Linked DNA regions of Homo sapiens: region 1 is linked to region 2. The links are contacts of gene promoters, found by promoter capture Hi-C in human tissues and cell types (Jung and others, 2019). All regions are on one chromosome and are shown on one strand. The core of a region is centred on a gene start or on the middle of the fragment in contact, and the rest is flanking DNA. Distances in the headings are between cores, read along the strand shown.

Evidence for each region. The method cuts DNA at HindIII sites, captures the fragments that hold promoters and counts their contacts. A contact is called where the count stands out against the background at its distance.
Region 1: a contact is called between a fragment that was not itself captured here and the fragment with the promoter of NEO1 in region 2, in 6 of the 25 tissues and cell types used here (IMR-90 fibroblasts, aorta, dorsolateral prefrontal cortex and 3 more).

The regions. Positions count from the first base shown.
Region 1 is chr15:72,789,637-72,795,928 of GRCh38, forward strand. All of the region lies in intron 2 of ADPGK-AS1 (ADPGK antisense RNA 1), which reads left to right. Among named protein-coding and RNA genes, the nearest start is that of ADPGK, 9.0 kb to the left of the region's middle. The HindIII fragment of the contact is 9,698 bases long and covers 1-6,292 here.
Region 2 is chr15:73,047,959-73,053,947 of GRCh38, forward strand. NEO1 (neogenin 1) reads left to right here and starts at 4,505. Exons shown (of 29, transcript NM_002499.4): 1 at 4,505-4,847. The coding sequence starts at 4,718. RefSeq lists silencers at 3,625-3,674, 3,735-3,804, 3,895-4,214, 4,445-4,824. The HindIII fragment of the contact is 9,189 bases long and covers 1,898-5,989 here.

The DNA.
Region 1 (6,292 bases), core at 1,358-3,857, 260 kb before region 2:
CATCTAGAGGCTAAGAATGCCTAACTTTCTGGGAATTCAGTCCAGCAAGTCTCAGCCTCATTCTCCTAGCCCTCACTCAAAGTGGAGTCGCTCTGGTTCGAATGCCTCTGACAAAACCATCACCACAATCAAGGTAATATAGTAAACATATCCATCACCCCCAAATACTTCCTCATGGCCCTTTGTAACCCTTCCCTCTTACTCCTTCCTGCCTGTACATCCTCCCACTCCCTGTACCTAGGCAATCTGCTTTCTGTCCCTACAGTTCAGTTTACACTTTGCAGAATTTTATATAAATGGGATCATACAGTACATACTCTTTTTGATGTGGCTTTTTTCATACAGCATAATTATTTTTGAGATTTATCTAGGTTATAGTGAATATCAACTGTTAATTGCTCTTTAAAAAACTTTTAACTTCAAAACAGTTATATATTCACAGGAAGTTGCCAAAATGGTAGGGTCTGTGTACCCTTCACCCAGTTTCTTTCAATGGATATATCTTACATAATCATAGTGCAGCATCAAAACCAGTAAACGGACATTGGTGCAAGGTGTATGTATAGTTTTGTGCCGTCTTATTATATATGGAGATTCGGGTAATCACCACTCAATCAAGTTGCAAGAACTGTCCCATCACCACGAAGATCTCCCTCATGCTATCCCTTTAGTCACACCCAACCCCCATCCTCTACCATTCCTAGACCCTGGCAGCCACTAATCTGCTTTGCATCACTGTAATTTTGTCATTCTGAGAAATGTTATAAATGGAATCATACAGTATGTGATCTTTTGAGAGCATAATACCCTTGAGATGCATCCAACACTGTTGCATGTGTCAATAGTTCATTTTTGTTATTTATTTTTATTTTTTGACTGAGTAATGTTCTGTGGTATGGAAAGATCACAGTTAGCTTAGTCATTCACTCATTGAAGGAGAACTCCCCAACAATTGCTCTGGACATGCTGGAATTTTTTTTTTCTGTTCTTTGTTCATTCTTGCTCATGGTGTGTTACAAATATCATAATTCTCCTTTTTCTCTGTGACCTTGTCTCTCAGTCTCCCATCAAGGAGTGATGTCTATTTCTCCACTTCTTGAATCTGGGCTGGCCTTGCCAATAGAATATGGCAGAAGTGACATCGTTCCATTTCTGAGTCAAAGCCTGAGTTGTTGCCAGTTTTGGGCAATTGGTTGTTGCCAGTTTTGGGCAATTGCAAATAAAGCTGCAATAAACAATCATGTACAGAGTATTGGGTGCACATATTTCATATCTCTGAGAGAAACGCCCAGGAATACAATTGCTGGGTTTTATGTTTAGTTTTCTTTTACATCCCCACAGGCAGCATATGAGAGATCCAGTTTCTTCACATCCTCACCAGCACTTGATATTGTCACTAATTTAGGTTTTGTTCTAATGGGTGTATAGTGACATCTGTTTGTGGTCTTAGTTTACATTGCCCTAATGGCTAGTAGTGTTGAGCATCTCTTCATGTATTTATTTGCCATCCATATATCTTCCTCAGTGAAGTGTCTCTTCAGGTTTTTTTTTTTCTTTTTTGAGACAGAGGCTCGCCCTGTTGCCCAGGCTGGAGTGCAGTGGTGTGATCTCGGCTCACTGCAACCTCTGCCTCCTGGGTTCAAGCGATTCTCCAGCCTCAGCCTTCCAAGTAGCTGGGACTATCTGTGCGCACCACCACACCCGGCTAATTTTTGTATTTTTTAGTAGAGACGGGGTTTCATCATGTTGGCCAGTCTGGTCTTGAACTCCTGACCTCAAGTGATCCGCCTGCCTCCGCCTCCCAAAGTGCTGGGATTATAGGCATGAGCTACCGTGGCTGGCTGTCTCTTCAAGCCTTTTGCCCATTTTATAATTGAATTGTTTGTTTTTTGTTATTGAATTTTGAGACTATATATCATATATTATAGATAAAAGTCCTTTGCCAGATACATGGTATGCAATATTTTCTTCCAGTCTTTTCATCCTCTTAATAGAGCCTTTCACAGAATAAAAGTTTTTCTTCTTGATGAAGTGTAATGTGTTGATTATTTTTTCTTCTATAGATTGTGCTAGTTTATTGCTTTTTGTTGCTGAATAGTATTCCATTGTATGGATATACCATTATTTGTTTATCTATTCATTTGTTGATGGACATTGGGTTCTTTCTAGTTTTTGACTATTACAAATAAAGTTGCTATGAGCATTTGTTTACAGGTCTTTTTGTAGGCTTTAATTGCTCTTGGGAAATATCTAGGAATGGAATACCTGAATCATGTAACAGATGTATGTTCCACTTTTTAACAAACTATCAAATTGTTTTCCAAAGTGGTTGTACCGTTTTATATACCTACCAGCATTCTATTAGAGTTCTAGTTCTTCTGTTTGCTTGCCAAGACTTGGTACGGTAAGTCTTTTAAATTTAGCCATTCTAATAAATATGTAGGTATATCTTTGTCTTAATTTTTATTTTCCTAATGACTAATGATGTTGAGCATCTTTTCATATCTTCATTGGTCAAGTATCTGTTCATATCTTTTGCCCATTTTTATTAGATTGTTTTTTTCTTATTACTGAATTAAAAAAATACTCTGGATGCGAGTCCTTTATAAGACCTGTGATTTGCAAATATTTTCTTGTCTGTCTTTTCATTCCCTTACCTGTTATATTGGATTAGTGGCCACCCTACTGACCTCATTTAAACTTAGTTACCTTTTTAAAGACTGTACAGTCACATTTTGAGGTACTAGGGATTAGGACTTCAATATATGAATTTTGAAGGGAATACAGTTCAGCCCATAACACTCCCCAACAATTGCTCTGGACATGCTGGAATTTTTTTTTTCTGTTCTTTGTTCATTCTTGCTCATGGTGTGTTACAAGTATCATAATTCTCCTTTTCTCTGTGACCTTGTCTCTCAGTCTCCCATCAAGGAGTGATGTCTGTTTCTCCACTTCTTGAATCTGGGCTGGCCTTGCCAATAGCATATGGCAGAAGTGACATCGTTCCATTTCTGAGTCAAAGCCTGAGGAGGCCTTGCATGCTTCTACTCTCTCTTGCAACCCTGCACTGCCACATATCAACAAGACTTATCAACAAGCCTGGGATAGCCTGCTAGATGATGAAAGAAATATGGCCCGCTTGCTCCCATCACTCCAGCTGATAGCCAGGCAACCCTAAGAAGCAAAGTCACCTAGCTGATTAGTAGCTGACCACTGACACAAAAGTAAGATCATCTGAGACCAGAAGACAGCCCATCTGAGCTCAGCCCAAATTACTGACCCACAAAGTAATAATAAATAAATGGTTATTATTTTTATGTCACTGAATTTTGAAGTGGTTTATTATTGAACAAAAGCTACCTGATACCCATCTTTTTTTTTTTTTTTTTTGATATGGAGTCTCCCACTGTTGCCCAGGCTGGAGTGCAATGGCGTGATCTCGGCTGACTCCACCCTCCGCCTCCTGGGTTCACGCAATTCTTCTGTCTCAGCCTCCTGAGTAGCTGGGATTACAGGCGCCCACCACCACACTGGCTAATTTTTTGTATTTTCAGTAGAGACGGGGTTTCACTATGTTGGCCAGACTGGTCTTGAACTTCTGACCTCATGATCCGCCCACCTCAACCTCCTAAAGTGTTGGGATTACAGGCATGAGCCACCGCACCAGGCCTACCCTTCCTAAGAGTCTTTGCTCTGGCTCTTACTTTCATCTGGAATACTCTGTGACTTGATCTTTGCATGCCTGGCTGCTTTATGTCATTCATATCTCTGCTCAAATACAATTTCCTCAAAAAGGGCTACACTGACCAATCAATATAATAAGCCTGTAGGTCTCTACGGCTTCTCCCTATTTATTTGTTTATTTTTAGAGATGAGGTCTCACTCTGTTACCCAGGCTGGAGTGCAGTGGCATCATCATAGCTCACTGCAGCCTCAAACTCCAAACACTTGGGCTCAAGCAATCCTCCCTCCTCAGCCTTCTGAATAGCTGGGACTACAGGTGCATGCCACCTTGACTGGCTAATGTTTTTTTTTTAATTTTTTTTTAGAGAAGGGGGTCTCACTATGTTGCCCACACTAGTCTTGAACCCCTGGCCTCAAGCAATCTCCTACCTCAGCCTCCTGGGTAGCTGGGATTACAGGTGTGAGCCACAATGCCCAGCCATTTTTTTTTTTCTTACACAGAAAAGCTCCAATATTCACTTAGATACTGCAGAAGGAAAAGAGAGGCTGAAAGGGTTGGATCAAGGAAGTAGGAAAGGGAATTTCTGGGGCATTTCCTTCCCCCAATCCCAGAATAGCCACAGAAATCACAGTCACCAAGAGCTGCTGCTTCTGAATAACATGACAGTGATGGTAAATTTTCCAAAATGTTGATTGTAACAGAGTTTGCCACATGACCAAACTGGTGGATCATAGAGTGGACAGACATCAGGAGCTCTGGAAAAAAAATTGCTACTCAGTACCTACTCAAGTTGTAATGGGGAGAGAAATGGACTGATATGCCGGATTTTTGTTGCAGAGAGCTGGCAAACTTGCAGTAAGTAACTAGCTGCATTCAAACTGACTGACGCACATAGATGGAGCCCTGAAATCCATAGCTCCGTTGAAGAGGCAGCAGAATTTATCTACTCCGACCCAGGTTTGCGGAATTTATCAACTCCAACCCAGGTGCTAGGCTGCTTGTGGTAGGGAGTGAAGCCATCATGCTGATGGATTTGGTGGTGACAAAGCAGGCTGTCAGGAAGAAGTAGGTCCCCCAGATTCTCCCGGGCAAGGGGACAACACTGGAAACTACATGTGGTAGTTTCCAGTATGTTAGGCTTTTCCTTCTGAAACTTGGCAAAGTAGAATTTGCTGAAAAGTAAGCAGTACAGCTTGTTTTTAATTTCGTTTCTCAAGAAAACCCAGCTAAGTCTCATCATGACTGTTTACTCTTGTTTCTTTTGGGAAATTAACTTCTTAATATAACTTTGACTAAAGATATGTAGATTTGTGGTATGAAAAGAAAATCTATCTGTTGGATGATGTTCCCAGTGAAGTACTATCCATTTGTTATTTTAAAAGTTATTCTCTTTTGTTCTAAACAGTAAATAGTGCCAAAACTAAGAAAAACATGTATTATAGTTTCAACGTCAGGCTGACTTGCCTGCAGATCTGTTCGCAATAGACTGTAATGCCCCTTTAAAGAAAGATTTAGAAATAAATTATTAAAAGTATTAATTCATTTAAAAAAATGTAAGCATGAATGGGGACAAGCTGGGGAGAATGATTTGTCTGCTCTTTCTGGGAGGGTGGCGAGCAACATCCATGAGAAACCTGCAGGCCTTGCCACTGCTGCTGAGAGCCAGTGACCCCAAGGGCTGACCACTTGGGATGTTAGCTGCTTCTAGTCCAGGCACTGTGGTCTGGGCCTGTGGTATAAAGAAGGGCTATTGCCATAAAAGGAGATAGACACAACCAGCTTCAGTTCATCCTGCTTCCTGTCTCAGAATTTTTTTTTTTTTTTTTTGAGATGGAGTTTTGCTCTTGTTGCCCAGGCTGGAGTGCAATGAATAGCGTGATCTTGGCTCACTGCAACCTCTGCCTCCCAGGTTCAAGCGATTCTCCTGCCTCAGCCTCCCAAGTAGCTGGGATTACAGGCACCTGCCACCACGCCCAGCTAATTTTTGTATTTTTAGTAGAGACGGGGTTTCACCACATTGGCCAGGCTGGTCTCAAACTCCTGACCTCGTGATCTGCCCACCTTGGCCTCCCAACAGAATTTTTTTAAAAAAGAAATATGGTATGTCTTTGGAAACCCGAGATTCAAATCTTAGCACCCTATATCCCCACCACCACTACCATTAACAGTGCAGTTTGGAGCAAGTTGCTTAATCTTTTCCAGCCCAGTTTCCCATTTGTAAAATGGAAAGAATGACATCCATATAATGTAGTTGCTGGAGGATTCATTATTTTATTATTCAACAATTGTTTATTGAGTGCCAGACATTAGTCTAGTCACTAAGACAGACAAGGTCCATGTTCTCATGGAATTCATATTCTAACAGGGTAAGGTCACAACAAATAAATAATAAACAAATGAAAAATATCAGATATTGATAAGTTTTAGACAGAAAATAAAATAGGGAGCTGGGCATGGTGGCTCCTTTCTAATCCCAAAATGAGAGAATTGCTTAAGCTCAGGAGTTCGAGACCAAACTGGGCAACAGGGCAAAACCTCGTTTCTACAAAAATACAAAAATTAGCTGTCCCAGCTACTTAGAAGGCTGAGGTGGGAGGATCATTTGAG
Region 2 (5,989 bases), core at 3,255-5,754:
TTGTCATTTAGCTCCCACTTATAAGCGAGAACATGCGATATTTGGTTTTCTGTTCCTGTGCTAGTTTGCTGAGGATAATGGCCTGCAGCTCCATCCATGCTCCCGCAAAAGGCATGATCTCATTCTTTTTTATAGCTGCAGAGCCCTGATTATTTCATCTATATCTCTAAAAGTTTATCTGTTCAAGTTGGCCACAAAGTTTTACGGGGGGGGATTGTTTTTGTTTTTATTTTTTGAGGCATGGTCTTGCTCTGTTACTCAGGCTGGAGTGCAGTGGCAAAATAATGTATCACTGCAGCCTTGACCTCCAGGCTCAAGTGATCCTCCCGAGTAGCTGGGACTACAGGCACACGCCACCACACCTAGCTAATTTTTTTTTTTTTTTAATGTAGAGACCGGGTTTTGCCCTGTTGCCTACTCTGGTCTTGAATTCCTGGGCTCAAGCTATCTGCCTGCCTCGGCCTCCCAAAGTGCCGGGATTACAGGTGTGAGCCGCCGAGGGGCCTGGGGGAGTGGGGTGGATTCTAATTGGAAAAATGGAGGCTCACCTTATTTTCAGAAGCACCTTATACTCAGGCATATGTAGTGTATGCTGATGACTCACTTCTCCAGTCCTATCTCCCTGCTAAACTCCAGATCCAAGTAATGAACGGCTTACTGATATTTCTACTCAGATGTATTTAAAGTACCTATGTATGCATAGGTACTTTAAATTTCCTTGTCCAAAGTTAAACTAACATTGTCTCCCATCTGCTCATCTTTCTCATTCCCCCCTCAGTGAATGCCACCACCTTCATTCAGCTTCCCAAGTTGAAATCTGAGTTACCCACATCTCCTATCTCTCCCACACACCCCTGCTGTTTCTATCTATCTCCTAAATCTCTCTCTTATCTGTTCACTTTTCTTAATCCCCTTTGCTTTACTCCAGGCCACCATCATCTCCTCCCTAGACTATTGTAACAAAATCTGAACTGTTTTTTTTTTTTTTTGGTCTCGACTTCTTCCAAACTACACTCCAAGAAGCAGCCTCAGTGTTCCCTCTAAAACGCAAATCTGAGGTCAAATCCCACCTGTAGGCGTGGCTGACTCCTATCTACCTTCAGGTCTCTGTTTAGAGGCCAAAGCTTCTCTAATTCTCCTTCTCCCACCCCCACACACAATTTAGTCAAGTTAGATGCTCTTACTAAGTTTTCCCACACTCCTTATCTTTCCTTACCATAACAGTCTTTACACTTCTTTGTTATAATTGTTTACCCTTTCTGCTAGACTGGGAACTTTGTTTATCTGGCTCATCACTGTCTTCCCTTAACATAAGCCAGGACCAGAGACACAGGATGTACTTTATAAATATTAAATGAATGAACCAATAATTTTGTTATCCCAGCATCCAGCACAATACTTGGTGAAAACAGGTCCTCAATAATTTTTGCTGAATTAATAGATTGTTGTTGAACTAAAGATATGTGATCAACTAAGCAACATGTGACAAGCAAAATTAATATTGAGCATGCTTGTACTTAAAAAGGAGCACACATCCTTTTTAATTACGCTTAATCAGAGATGGCTCCCTAGAGCAGGTGGCTTCTGAAGGAGAACGGGAGAAAATAAAAATTCTTACCTAGTGGAATGTAAAGGGCAAATATAAAAATAACAATCTCTGTGCAGAAGAAAATCACTTTCTTAAGACTGGGGCAACTTCTAGTTGAAGTCTGCTGTGACTAGGAAGTGTTCTATCCTGAGATCTGCTAGTCAGGGGACTAGCTTTCTTCTTCTCAACCTCGGACACTGGGATTCAGCCAGGGAATCAGCTGCAGAATCTCATTACTGCCAGCAGTTAAACACTGAATTGTACGTCCTTTCTAATGTTGAAAAAAAAATCCTTTTACTATAGAGAATAAGATTCCTACCAAGTTTTATATTCATAGGCTTTAATATTTCATGTAATTTTTATATCAAAATACATTAGCATAAATTTCACAAGATATCAGTCTAGTTATTTTTGGCCTGCATTTCGATAACTTTTACAGACACACAATGGCCACTCTGTTTTCTTTGCTCTAAAGTTTCTTTGTGCACTTATTCCTTGAACATGGGCCTCATGTTCTAACTTTACTTAGATGAAAAAACTGTTAATTTCACCAGTGGTTTAATATCTCTTCATAGATTGATAGTTTAGACAACATAAAAGTGTTGATTAGCAGTATACGTGCAGGCTGAAGTATTTGTTGAAAATCTTGTTGGGAGAATAAGAATGATAAAAGAGATGCCTAAGAAAATCTTTTCTCAGATATGCTTTACTAAACAAAGAACAGGTTAATTACTCAATGATGATTTTTAAAGGGCATGTCGACAGTGTCAGTGACTTTGAAACAAAGTAAAGGAGCTGAATTCAAGTGTGTGCCTGAGTTACTTAACTATCTTGAACTGATTTAGGATCTGTAGCTTTAATCTGGGGCTCCATCTACTAGTGGTTTAATAGAGTGGGTTTTATTAAAATTGTGATTTAATCAGAAGCCAGAAATATACAACTGTTTTAAACTTTTTGATATTAACCTGATATACACAGTGGGCTGATAAATTAGTGAGACAGTTCATATAAGTCATATATGAAAATCAGTCTGTTATTAGCCACAACTCATGTATTTTTCAAAACTTGGAGATAAATGTAAGCTTCATCTCAGAAGTCATATTACACGTTATAGGTTTAATATAATGAAATTTTTCCAGACTTAGAAAAGATATCAGGAAATTAACATTTGCAAGGCAATTTACAGTTTTCAAAGAGCTTTTCTCATTAATTATCTCAGAAAACTGAATAATGATGTGATTATTAAAGGTTAATTAAGCAAATACTTGTGAAGTAATTGGGAGGTAATCTATTTCTAATTTAACAGGTCAATCACGGGTATTTAGGAAATATTTTTGCTGGTTAACAACTCTAACCAAAACAAAAAGGTATTTAAATGGTTTCCCTAGTGAAAAACCATAAGCATGTGTTTCCTCTATTAAGTCAATTGTTTCAAAGAACTAGCATGAGAATTCCTAATTTCACCGTTTTGATGATTTAAGGTTTTATGAAGATTCTGAGCTCTTCCCTCCCGACGTTAATCCATGTCTTACATTGTTCATTTTGGCGCTTTAGAATAAAATATCTTTGGAAAGTAACTATGAGAAAGCACAGAGGGATATGTTAGTGAAATAGCCATTTTCTTGTGGGAAGCAAGACATTTCGGTTATCGACTACACAGAAGAGTGAATAAAACCCAACGCCTATCAACCACCAAACGTGACTCTGCTTGCATAATCATACAAATAAATTTTCTTTAAAAATTTTTCATGGGTGCAGTATATAAAATGATCAATAGTCTCATCAGCAGTGGAACTACAAACTGCTTTCTCCTAACTTTGTGTAGCCTGGGTGCTGCCTCACGATTACTAAGTGGTTTAAAATCATATCCCACTTGCTCCTTGGTTTATCAGCGAAAGACGTGATTCCCAGGTAGGAAAACGCCAAGTGTCCCGCAAAGGTACAGGTAAAACGTAGCAGTTACTGCGAGAAGACTGGCCCCGGGGAGTCCCAGGGCTCGGTCGGGGCCCCCGCACGAGCTGAGGAAGTGGACAGCGGGCACCTTTGTCTGTGCCTAGTTCCCTGGACCCGGGCCGAGCGATGCGGGTGGGGGCGCGGTTCGGGCGGGTCCCGGCGCTGCCCGGGGGAAGCGCGCGGCGACGGCGGCCCGGCTTGGGAGCCGGAGGTCAGCGGCTGCGCGGCCGGCCCCCTCCCACGGGAGCCGCGCCAGGGCCCAGCAAGAGTCGGGCGGGATCGCTATTGTTTTTGGCGAGCACATAAATCCCCGGGCCGACCCACTGCGCACCCAGGTTTCCTCCCGGAGGCCTTTCGGTTTCCTCTGAGGCCCTATATAGAGGCTCCAGGCCCGGACTGTGCAGAGGTGCGCGCCCACGCCGGCCTCCCGGACCAGCCTGAGCTCGGAGCGCCTCTCGCCCTCAGGTCTCTGCAGCCAGAGGCATCTGGGGAGGTGAGGGGGGAATTTGTCCCCGAGGCGAGGAGGAGGAGGCGGGGGCGCGCGGAGCCGAGGGGCTGCGGCGAGCGGGCGGGAGGAGCAGGAGGATCCGCTTCTCCGGGGTTTCCCTGACGCCAGCAGCAGCGCCCGGCGCGCGCGCCCCGCACCCGTCAGCGGCTCCGGGGAGAAGGGGGAGGGGAGCGGGCCCGCCACGGCCCGAGAGGCGGCAGCCGGGATTGGAGCGGGGGCGGGCCGCGCGCGGAGCCGAGGGGGTGCGGGCGAGGCGCGCGCGTGCGCGTGTGCGCGCCCGGGACTCCCGCCCCCCGCCCCCGCCCCCGCCCCCGCCGTCCGCGGTCTCCGCCCCCCTCGCGCTGGTGTGTGGAGCCGGAGTCGGCGGCGGGTGGCGGCGCCTGGAACCTGGAGACCGACCCACCGCCCCCCCCCCCCCGCCCCGGAATGTACTGACTCCCCTTCTTCGCTCTCCTCCCCTCCCCGCCCCCTTGCAGGAGGGAGGCGCCCTGGAGTCTCCCCTCCAGCGAGAGGGGCTGCGCGGGCCGGGCCGGGCCGGGCTGGGCTGGAGCAGCGGCGGCCGCGGGAGCCGAGCTTGCAGCGAGGGACCGGCTGAGGCGCGCGGGAGGGAAGGAGGCAAGGGCTCCGCGGCGCTGTCGCCGCCGCTGCCGCTCACTCTCGGGGAAGAGATGGCGGCGGAGCGGGGAGCCCGGCGACTCCTCAGCACCCCCTCCTTCTGGCTCTACTGCCTGCTGCTGCTCGGGCGCCGGGCGCCGGGCGCCGCGGCCGCCAGGAGCGGCTCCGCGCCGCAGTCCCCAGGTAAGCGGCGGGCGCGGGCCCGGGGGTTCGCGGGGGCGCGGCACCGGCTCAGGCGGCCGCGGCTGCGGTGTTTTTGTTTAGGATCCAGGAGGAAACGTGCAGGAACTTCTCTGCCTCGGCTCCGGTTGCCGAAGAGAAAGGGGATCGCGCGTGGTGGGGAGGAGAAGGGCGAGAGGGGGCGCCACCGGGGAAGGGGCGGCTGCCGGGGGGCAGGTCGGGGGCGCAGGGGTCTAGTTCCCAGCTTTGTACCTGGAGGCAGGTTCACCCCTCGCCTCTCTCCCCTCCCCCAGGCTCATCCCACTTGTAAGAGTGGGACATTCTTGTGCTCACACTAGCACCAGTAGAGGCCACTACACACCTCATTAAATAAACAATCAGACGGCCAATTCATTAATTTTCAGGAAAGGAAAGGGGAGGGGGCTTGAGCTCCTGGTTCCCTGGCCAGGGATTTCCCAGCTTCCGAAGTCTCGAGGAAGAGCTGGCTAGTCTCGAGGGACTCCTCGCGCGGGGATTGGAGCCCGAGTCTGCGGAAGAGCGGGGGTGTCAGAGGGGCACAATTGCCCGCTCACAACCCCTGGTGTTGATTTAACGATGAGGACGCCTTGGAGAGCGGCTCGGAGTGATCGTATCTGTTAGTGTTTCCGTTATGAAATGCCTCTTCTTTCCTGGGGATTACAACTATATTTACAGCCTATTAACCACTCTTAACCAAGGGAATTGTCTAAGCATCAGATTTTAGGTACTTGTACAATGTTTTCAGATGGCATTGTATAAACATTGAACCTCAAAAGCCATTTTCAGTTCTTTTTTGGAATATTATAGATTACTGAAACCACCTGCATTCCTATTAAGGGGACCAACGAACAAAAATGCCAAGCCTTCCGGGAAGGACCTTACGGTATTGTTGAGCAGGATACACTCAGCAGTTGAAAGGCAAATTAGCATGTAATCTGTTAAAATTATTTGACCAAGGTGGTGTACCATAAAACTTGACAAAACTTTCACTCGTGTGAGATATGATATTTTTACATTTGAAAGCAGTCTTACCGCTGAACCAGTACTTGTTTTTCCCTGATTTATATGAAATAATATTTAAAATCACACTGCAAGGTAACTTGACTGATAAACTTTTCATTTCCTTG